Linked DNA regions of Homo sapiens: regions 2 and 3 are each linked to region 1. The links are contacts of gene promoters, found by promoter capture Hi-C in human tissues and cell types (Jung and others, 2019). All regions are on one chromosome and are shown on one strand. The core of a region is centred on a gene start or on the middle of the fragment in contact, and the rest is flanking DNA. Distances in the headings are between cores, read along the strand shown. Region 1 holds the start of GTSF1L (gametocyte specific factor 1 like). Region 2 holds the start of IFT52 (intraflagellar transport 52). Region 3 holds the start of L3MBTL1 (L3MBTL histone methyl-lysine binding protein 1).

The links. Contacts are between HindIII fragments. The study calls those that stand out against the background at their distance.
Region 2: the fragment with the promoter of IFT52 here is called in contact with the fragment with the promoter of GTSF1L in region 1 in 1 of the 25 tissues and cell types used here (lymphoblastoid cells).
Region 3: the fragment with the promoter of L3MBTL1 here is called in contact with the fragment with the promoter of GTSF1L in region 1 in 3 of the 25 tissues and cell types used here (IMR-90 fibroblasts, lymphoblastoid cells and small bowel).

Annotation. Positions count from the first base shown.
Region 1 is chr20:43,725,653-43,728,352 of GRCh38, forward strand. It overlaps GTSF1L (gametocyte specific factor 1 like), which reads right to left and starts at 1,350. Exons shown (of 1, transcript NM_176791.4): 1 at 512-1,350. The coding sequence starts at 1,042. The coding sequence ends at 596. The HindIII fragment of the contact is 17,400 bases long and covers 1-2,700 here.
Region 2 is chr20:43,589,485-43,592,197 of GRCh38, forward strand. It overlaps IFT52 (intraflagellar transport 52), which reads left to right and starts at 1,453. Exons shown (of 14, transcript NM_016004.5): 1 at 1,453-1,570. RefSeq lists an enhancer at 1,575-1,644. The HindIII fragment of the contact is 21,857 bases long and covers 1-2,713 here.
Region 3 is chr20:43,506,348-43,509,047 of GRCh38, forward strand. L3MBTL1 (L3MBTL histone methyl-lysine binding protein 1) reads left to right here and starts at 1,350. Exons shown (of 22, transcript NM_001377303.1): 1 at 1,350-1,397. RefSeq lists a silencer at 1,231-1,560. The HindIII fragment of the contact is 9,495 bases long and covers 1-2,700 here.

The sequences.
Region 1 (2,700 bases), core at 100-2,599:
TTTAAGGCGGCATAATATTTTGTTGTATGGCTGCAGTATAACTTATTTTTAATCAGGCCCTTTTAATGGATATTTAGGTCATTTTTGACTTTTTTTTTTGTTGCTTAAGACAGGATCTCACTATGTTGCCCAGGCTGAACTCAAGCGATCCTCTCGCCTCAGCTCCCAGAGTAACAGGCTACAGCTGTGATTCAACACACCTGGCTCATTTCTAACTCTTTTGCTGCTGCAAATAATGCTGCAGTGAATAAGCTAGTACTTAGCTCATTTTCCACATGTGTGATTATATTTACAGAATGAAGCCTGGAAGTGGAATTGCTCAATCAAAGCCTGTATGCATTGATAATGTTTATAGCTATTGTCAAATTGCCCTCTGTGGAGGTTGTACCAACTGACATTCTCACCAATGTTATGAAAGTGCCCATTTTGCCCTACCTTTGCCAGCAGAGTATTTTAAGCCTTTTGATATTTATCAATCTGCCAGGTTAAAAAAAGAGGTAGCCCAGGGTAGTTTACTTTGCATGTCTTTTATTCTGATGCATTGCACGTTCTTCCATGCATTGATGAGGCGTGTGCTCCTTCCTCAGCTGGCAGTTTACTGTCCTGGTCTGAGGATCTTCTGGGGACTGGTCTCTCTTGCTGACTCTTTCGTGTCATTTTCACAAACAACCTTTTGAGGAAAAAAAGTCTTAAGGACAAACACATGCTGGCAATTAGCGCCATCGACATTCCAGATATCGGGGCTGGGAAGGCAGGGTGAGACCTGCTGGGTGTCATCGTTCTGCTCTGAACTAGGAGGACTGACTTTCAGAGGGTTCTCGGTGTCCTCTTCTTCCACAGCGCTCCTGTTGACACAAACAGCCTCATGTTCCTCCAGATTTTTGATGGGGACCACGTGGCAGGCGTTGTATTTGCAGGTGGCCATCTTTTTGGCTTTCTTGGGGTTCTTTCTCCTGCACGATGCCAGGTGGTACTGGAATCTGCTGAGTGGGATTCGGTGGTGAGGATCATAAGGGCAAATTTCAAAGGCTTCTGGCTCCATGAGAAATTCTTGAAGCAGGGTATCTCACTGCTAGAGTCTAACGGAAATGCTTCTTGTGGAGAAGCCCTTTTGTAAGAAGGATGGAGTTGTCCTCTGCCCAGTTTTGGCCCTTGGGATTCTGTAGGTGACGGTCTTAACTTGTGGTCTGTTCTCTAGGACTGTGAGTGGTGGATTAGAAGAGAGATGAGGAGCTGCCAAAAGCAGCTACACAGAGAACAGAGTTAGCAAATGGCACCCGAGACAGAACTATAGCAGATGCAAGAGCCAAAAACCCACAGCCGCTTGACTCACGGATATACTATGATGTCAAGCTGCAGTCACCGGTGGTCACAATGGGCAGCCTAAGTCATCAGGAAGAGGCTATTGTGCACTGCTTGGGAGGGGTGGATGGCTTTGGGAATGCTGCCATCTAAAATTGCTCATGGATGTATGTTGTGACTTAAGTCTTTTAACTGTACGTATTTGTTTTTTGTTTTTGTTTTTGTTTTATTTGAGACAGAGTCTCGCTCTGTTGCCAGGCTGGAGTACAGTGGTGCGATCTTGGCCCACTGCAATCTCCGCCTCCCAGGTTCAAGTGATTCTCCTGCCTCAGGCTCCCGAGTAGCTGGGATTACAGGCACCTGCCATCATGCCCGGCTAATTTTTTGTATTTTTAGTAGAGACGGGTTTCACCATGTTGGCCAGGCTGGTCTTGAACTCCTGACCTCAGGTGATCCACCCGCCTCAGCCCCCCAAAGTGCTGGGATGATAGGTGTGAGCCCCTGCGCTTTGCCAGGGCTGGTTTTTGGATGTGATTCTCAGGGCCGTCTTTCTTTACCCTTCTGCTCTGCTGAGGCCCACAGCAGCCTAGTCTCCTTGGGTGTGGGGGAAGGGTTTAAATCTATTCATATATCGCAGAAGGTGAAGCCTTTTGGTGTTCAGCTTAACATGGGAAACATTTCCTATAAAACGCCCCATCTTAGGTCGACCCTGCCGTTGTCCCTCACAGAACTGGACCAAAGTCTGAATGGACGCAATTGACACATATCTCAGGGTGTTAGTGGTTTTGGTCCTCTGACATTCTATTTACATGTCTGGTGTTAGGTAGGATTTCTTCTAAAAATTGGCCTGGAGCTCCTTCCCACCCCCCACCCTGTTAAATTGTTTCTCAAGATCTGAGTGACAGTAGAGAAATACCATATTCCTGAATAGGAAGACTCAAAATCATAAATGAATATTCTCTGTAAACTAAATTACATAAATTACATAGTCATCCTAAATTGATACATAAATATAATGCAATTCCAAATAATTTTTGTAGCTTTATGTGCTGATATCTGATAGAGCAAGTCTCTGCTTGTTATTAGTTTTCCCCCCAAAAGCCTTGACTATCTTCAAGGATTTGTTATTCTAGATCATGTGTCAACAAACTATGGGCCCATGATTCAAATCCAGATGGCTATCTGCTTTTGTAAATAAAGTTTTATTGAAGCACAGCCACACCCATTTGTTTATATATTGTCCATTGGCTGCTTTTGAGCTAGATTTGAGTAGTTGCAACAGAATCCAGATGACCTAGAAACCTCTAATGTTTTCTGTCTGGCCCATTATAGAAAAAGCTCACCCATCCTATTCTTGGTGGTGGTTAAGGAAGCTGACTGTATTCAAATTCTACCTCC
Region 2 (2,713 bases), core at 203-2,702, 140 kb before region 1:
AATTTTCTTTTTTTATTTATTATTACTATTATTATTGGAGAGAAAAGGTGTTACTGTTACCCAGGTCCCAGACTCCTGGCCTCAAGCAGTCCTCCCACCTTGGCCTCCCAAAATGCTGGGATTACAGGCAGAAGCCACTTCATCTGACCAAAGAGAATTCTCAAATCACCCTGTTCTCCACTTTCTTTTTGAGACAAGGTCTCACTGTGTTGCCTAGGCTAGAGTGCGGCGGCACCATGACGGCTCACTGCAGCCTCAACCTCCTAGGATCAATCAATCAATCCTCCCACCTCAGTCTCCCAAGCAGCTGGGACTACAGGCGCGCGCCACCACGCCCAGGTAATTTTTCCTATTTTTAGTAGATACCGGGTTTCGCCATGTTGCCTAGGCTGGCCTCAAACTCCTGGGCTAAAGAGATCCACCTGCCTCGGCCTCCCAAAGTGCTGGGATTACAGGAGAGAGCCGCTGCGCCCGGCCCGTCTCCACTTTTAAAATTTCCAGTGACAGAAATTGTGGAAAGCAACACGAGTTGTATGTGTTTTAATATCCTAGATTCGAAGACAAACATAAATGTAAATAAAAACTGTCAGAGCTCTCTGCAATCTTCAGTTTGGGTCTTCCAGGCTGCTGCAGCGTTGTTCACAAATCCACACACCTCTAAAGGCAGGCACAGAGCGCTTTCCTGGGTAGTCGGGTGGCCTGTTGGTAGTTGCAGGCTTCTGGTTTCCCATCTTAATGGCGATGGCAGGGCAACCTGTATTGGTGGTGCTTTTGCACAAGCAGTTCTTTCTGCCGGGAACGCCCTTCCCCAGCCTTTGCCTTAATGAATACCACTCTCTCTTCAAATCTCTGCTCAACAGGGGCGCCTTTTTGACCAGCTTAGTCGTTAGACTCCCTAATACAGTTCATAGTTTTCACATTTTTGTAGAATCTATTCAAGTTCTAACTCCCCGCCATGCTCGCCGGCGCTCAAGCCTAGTACCATGGCAAGCAAAGATGCGGAGTTAATAAAACAGAATTATACGGTTTATCATTCTCAACACTAAACCTGCGCACCCTTTTCCGTTAAGTAGTTCCTAATAGTCCAGCACAGCCTTCCGCCCGGCCCCGCCCTCGCCTGGCTCCACTCTGCTCCTGCGCTTTGGGAATCGAAGCTGGGGCGTTCTCCAACCCCCCCGCGCTGGAAGCCTTCACTATTCTCCTCCCTGTGGGTGGAGCGAAGTTTGGGCACTTGGGTCCTACCGTTGTTATTAGTCTTTACTCGTAATTGATACTAAAGAACAAAATTAAATGGGTTTATTTTTGGTGAAAAGTTAATTCTCCTTATGTTTGGATTTGCCCCTCATGCACCAAATGGTACAGCCCCACATCAGTCAGGCTGCCTACCCCTGACGCCTGCGACGGAGAGGCGCCTTCCGTGCTGTCGTCATCACGTCGGCCGGAGCTAGCGCTGCGTCCTGGGCCACGCCTCCCGGCGCACCGACGCGCCTCTCCGGTTACTAAGCGGCCTTGGATACCTGGCCGCGGGATGCTGGGCGGCGTCAGGTGAGCGGTGGTCGCTGGGCCTCAGGTAAAGGGCGCCAACAGTGGTGGGCCGGCTGGGGCGTTGGTGCGGCCTGGGAGCTGGCGAGGGACTCGCCGCACTCTTCGAGGCCGCTGGGCCGGTCATAGAACATCCAGGGTCCCCCGGGGTGAAGTAAACTGTGGGCGCGGACGTAGCCCGGGTTCCTGGCGCCCCGGCTGGGCGCCCATCTCCACGGCCTCGGGTGGTGCAGGTGTTTAGTCGTTCCGCTGACTATGAAAGAGCATGGGACGAGGAATCGTACAGTCTTAATCTCTCTTCTGTCGTGGCTGCGACCCCTCGGTATTCATGTGGGAAAATACTGATTTGACTGGTAATGTTATTGAAGAGAAAGCGAGAGAATGGTTTGGCAGCGTTACCCAAATATTTGTTATTTTTATAGTTTTAAAGGCCTTATACTATTATTAAGGAAATGCATTTCTGGCTAAGTCTGACAGTACAGGAACGCAGACCTGCTACTCTCACCAGGGGCTGAACTAACAGAACAAAAAAAGATAGATGTATCACGGTGGTGGGACCATGGAGGGGGCAGTTTTTCAACTGGACAAAATGATGTTAAAGTGCTTAAAGAAGGATAAATATGTGAAAGTAGCCAGGAAAATTCTAAAATTAATGCTAATAAGGGAGATTAGCTCTCCAGAACCACCAGATATTATAACATAAAGGTATAGCAATTAAACTAGCATAGAAGATGGGTGCAGCAGTGTGGGCCCGTAGTCCTGGCTACTTGGTAGGCTGAGGCGGCAGGATCCCTTGAGCCCAGGAGTCAGAGACCAGCATGGGTATCAAAAGGAAACCCTGTCTCTGAAAATAAATAAATTAATTTAAAAAGTTTGGGACTCAGCAGGAGCTTACAGGTAGATAAAATATATTAGAACTCAGAATAAGAGCGATTTATATATAGGGATTTATTATATAGGCGAGGTGGTACTGTATTTCAAATCAGCATTGAAGAGATGAATTGGGGTCAGGCAGCTTTTTTAGCAATTTAGAAAATAATTAAACCAGTCGAGCGAGGTGGCTCACACCTGTAATCCCAGCACTTTGGGAGGCCAAAGCGGGTGGATCACTTGAGGTCAGGAGTTCCAGACCAGCCTGGCCAACCTGGTGAAACACCGTCTCTACTATGGC
Region 3 (2,700 bases), core at 100-2,599, 220 kb before region 1:
TCAATGTGTAGAAAAAGGCATCCATCGTTATGGCAACCAGCATCCTTAACTGATGCAATCCTGTTCCCAATAATATGAGATGTGATTAAAAATTGACATTGCAGCAAGGAAGAACACATGCAATGCGTTGGCGTGGCAACCGGAATAGTTAAATTCTGCATAAATTTAAACCTGTCGATCACAGCAATTTGGAGAATTTGCCTACATTTCATTAGGAACCCTTTTCTCATCTGGCCTGGGAGGGAATCAGGAGCCTGGTGGTCTGACATGTGGCCATGACTTAAGGCCAAGTAAAATCAAGGGATTAAATTAAATCATTGGTGTGGGAGAGGGGCTGGATGGTGGACTGTACCAAAAGTTACCCTGTTTTCATCTGCATACCCTACATCATTTAGTCACTCAACAGATATTTATTAAGCACCCACTCTGTGCCCCGCTCTGGGCTAGGTACTAGGAATACAAAAACTAATATTTCCTACCCTCTTGGAGCTTGAAACCTCTTAGCCTCTGGAATTACTCAAATCTATGTGAAGTGCCAGCTGTGGTATGTGTAAGCGAGACAGGTATCTTGTGTTACCAGAACCAATAACAAGGAGATTTGATTAATTAGAGAGATCAGGTGGAGGCGAAGAGATCAGTCAAAGTGAAGCAGAGAGGGGCAGTGATTGCTACACCACCACAGGAACCCAAACTGAAAACGACCATACGCCATGAAGTGGGTGATAGTCTTTACCAATGTCGAAATGGAGGACCTGGGGGATACTGATGTTACCCAGCCCTTCGCAGTGGGGTCACCCAAAAGTAGACGCGGCTAATGCCGCTCTTTATGCCCGGCAGGGCCAGGACCAGAGTCCCCGCACGAGGGTTCCTCTCTCCGGTCGCACGTGCCCTTCACCCTTCCTGAGGCCGTTTTCTGACGCTCCTGAGCTCCCCTCCAGGGTGAGGGCAGGCGCGGTGGGAAGGCGTTGGACAGAGCAGACACTCGGCTGGGGTGCATGCCTGGGTGCAGCCTCGTCTTTTGTCACTAACCACTCAGCTCGGTAGCCCTCCAGGCTCTCTCTTCGAGCTCCGCGGTCCCTGCGCCCCCGCTGCGCTCTGCTAGCTGTGATGCAGGGGTTCGGGGGCAGGAAAAATCTCGACCCGCCACGCCCGTGCGGCAAACCTGTCCTAGGTTGAGGGGGCATGAGGCGCGCACAACCAGGGCCTCGAAGGCAGGCAAGAGGGCGCGGGCGCCACAGAAGCCTGGGCCTGCGCCTGGGCCGGGCAGATGTGCCCGGCGCTCGGGCCCCGCGCTCTGCGTCCTGCAGGGAGGCGGACCCGCCCCCCGAACGCGCAGGCGCGCGGCGCCCGGCTCGGACCGTAGCTAGGCGCTGGGCGGCCACCGGCTGGCCAGGCAGGTAAGCAACCAGCGGTGCGTGGGCTCAGACCTTGCGTCCCCTGGGCGCCGCGCCACCCCGCTCCGTCCAGGGCGGCGAGGGCTCAGGTCTGCGGCCCCGGCGTCTCGCTCCTTCCGAGCGCCTCCGGCGGGGGGCGCGGGCTGGGGAGGAGGTTCGGGAAAACGCCGGGGAAAGCGGTCTGGGCGGAGCGCGCAGGGGGCCAGGCGGGTGCGGGACTCCAGGCCCAGCCGACCCTGCGGCGTGGCTTCGGGCTGCGATCAGGAGGGGCGAGGAGGGTGGAGGCTGCGTGTTTGGAGATACGCAATCAATTAAGAGTTTTTTTATTAATGGAAAGGTGTGGAGGGCGGGGTTTTGGTTTTCTTGGGAAATGAATGAGTCATTTGGCAAACTTTCCTACCATTAATTTTGGATTTTTATAATGGAATATGGAATTTTTTTTGTTTCTCTCTCTTTTTTTTTTTTTGGCCATAAAGAGAAAGAATAAAAAGAATTCCGCCATTTTAGCGTTTTAAAAAGTAACCGTTCTGCGGAACTGTCGGATCAGTGACCGCCCCGCCCGCCTTTGCCTATACCAGTCCCGGGAGGCTGGTGGCGGGTCCCGATCCTGGAACCCTGCGCTCAGGGCCGCTTCCGTCCCCTCCCGAGTCCGGGAAGCAGCTGCGGCGAGGGGCGGGGCCGAGGCCCCAAGTTTGTAGCGCTCAGCCTTGCTGTGTGTTGTTTTCTGGGTAGCTGTCGAGGGCTCTACTCCCCACCCAACACCTATAGTAAGGACATTTATTGGTCGTTTTTGTATACAAGGCCTTGGAAGGCAAGGGATTGAGAAAACCTTGTCAGACATCAAGAGAAAATACCCATGGACACATTCAGCCAACAGATATTTATTGAGCATCTGCTATGTGCACGGCTCTGGGCTGGGGCTACAATGGTTGTTTTAGGTCGGGTCCCCCGAAACAGACTCCGATAGCAAGATTTGAGTGTAGGTTTATCGGAGTGCTCTTGCGAATATCACCAGTAGGGGAATGACGGGTTGGGCGGAAGAAGAAGCTGAACTGCTGATGTAGTCTCAACAGAGGCCTCAGCCTGACCTAATGGAAGCTCTGGAACTGAGATGGCCCTGCAGAGGTGTTCCAAAGTAAGGCAAGGGGGTGGGGTCTTTACACCTCATAGCAACTCGTCATTGGCTGGCGGCTTCTAGGAGAGCCTTCAAGTGAGGTAGCTCCCTAGGCTCAGAGCAGTTCCAAGAGAGGCTGACGGCAGAAGGCTGAAAACTTTCTTCAGTGTCCACCAGAAACCCAGACTCTTC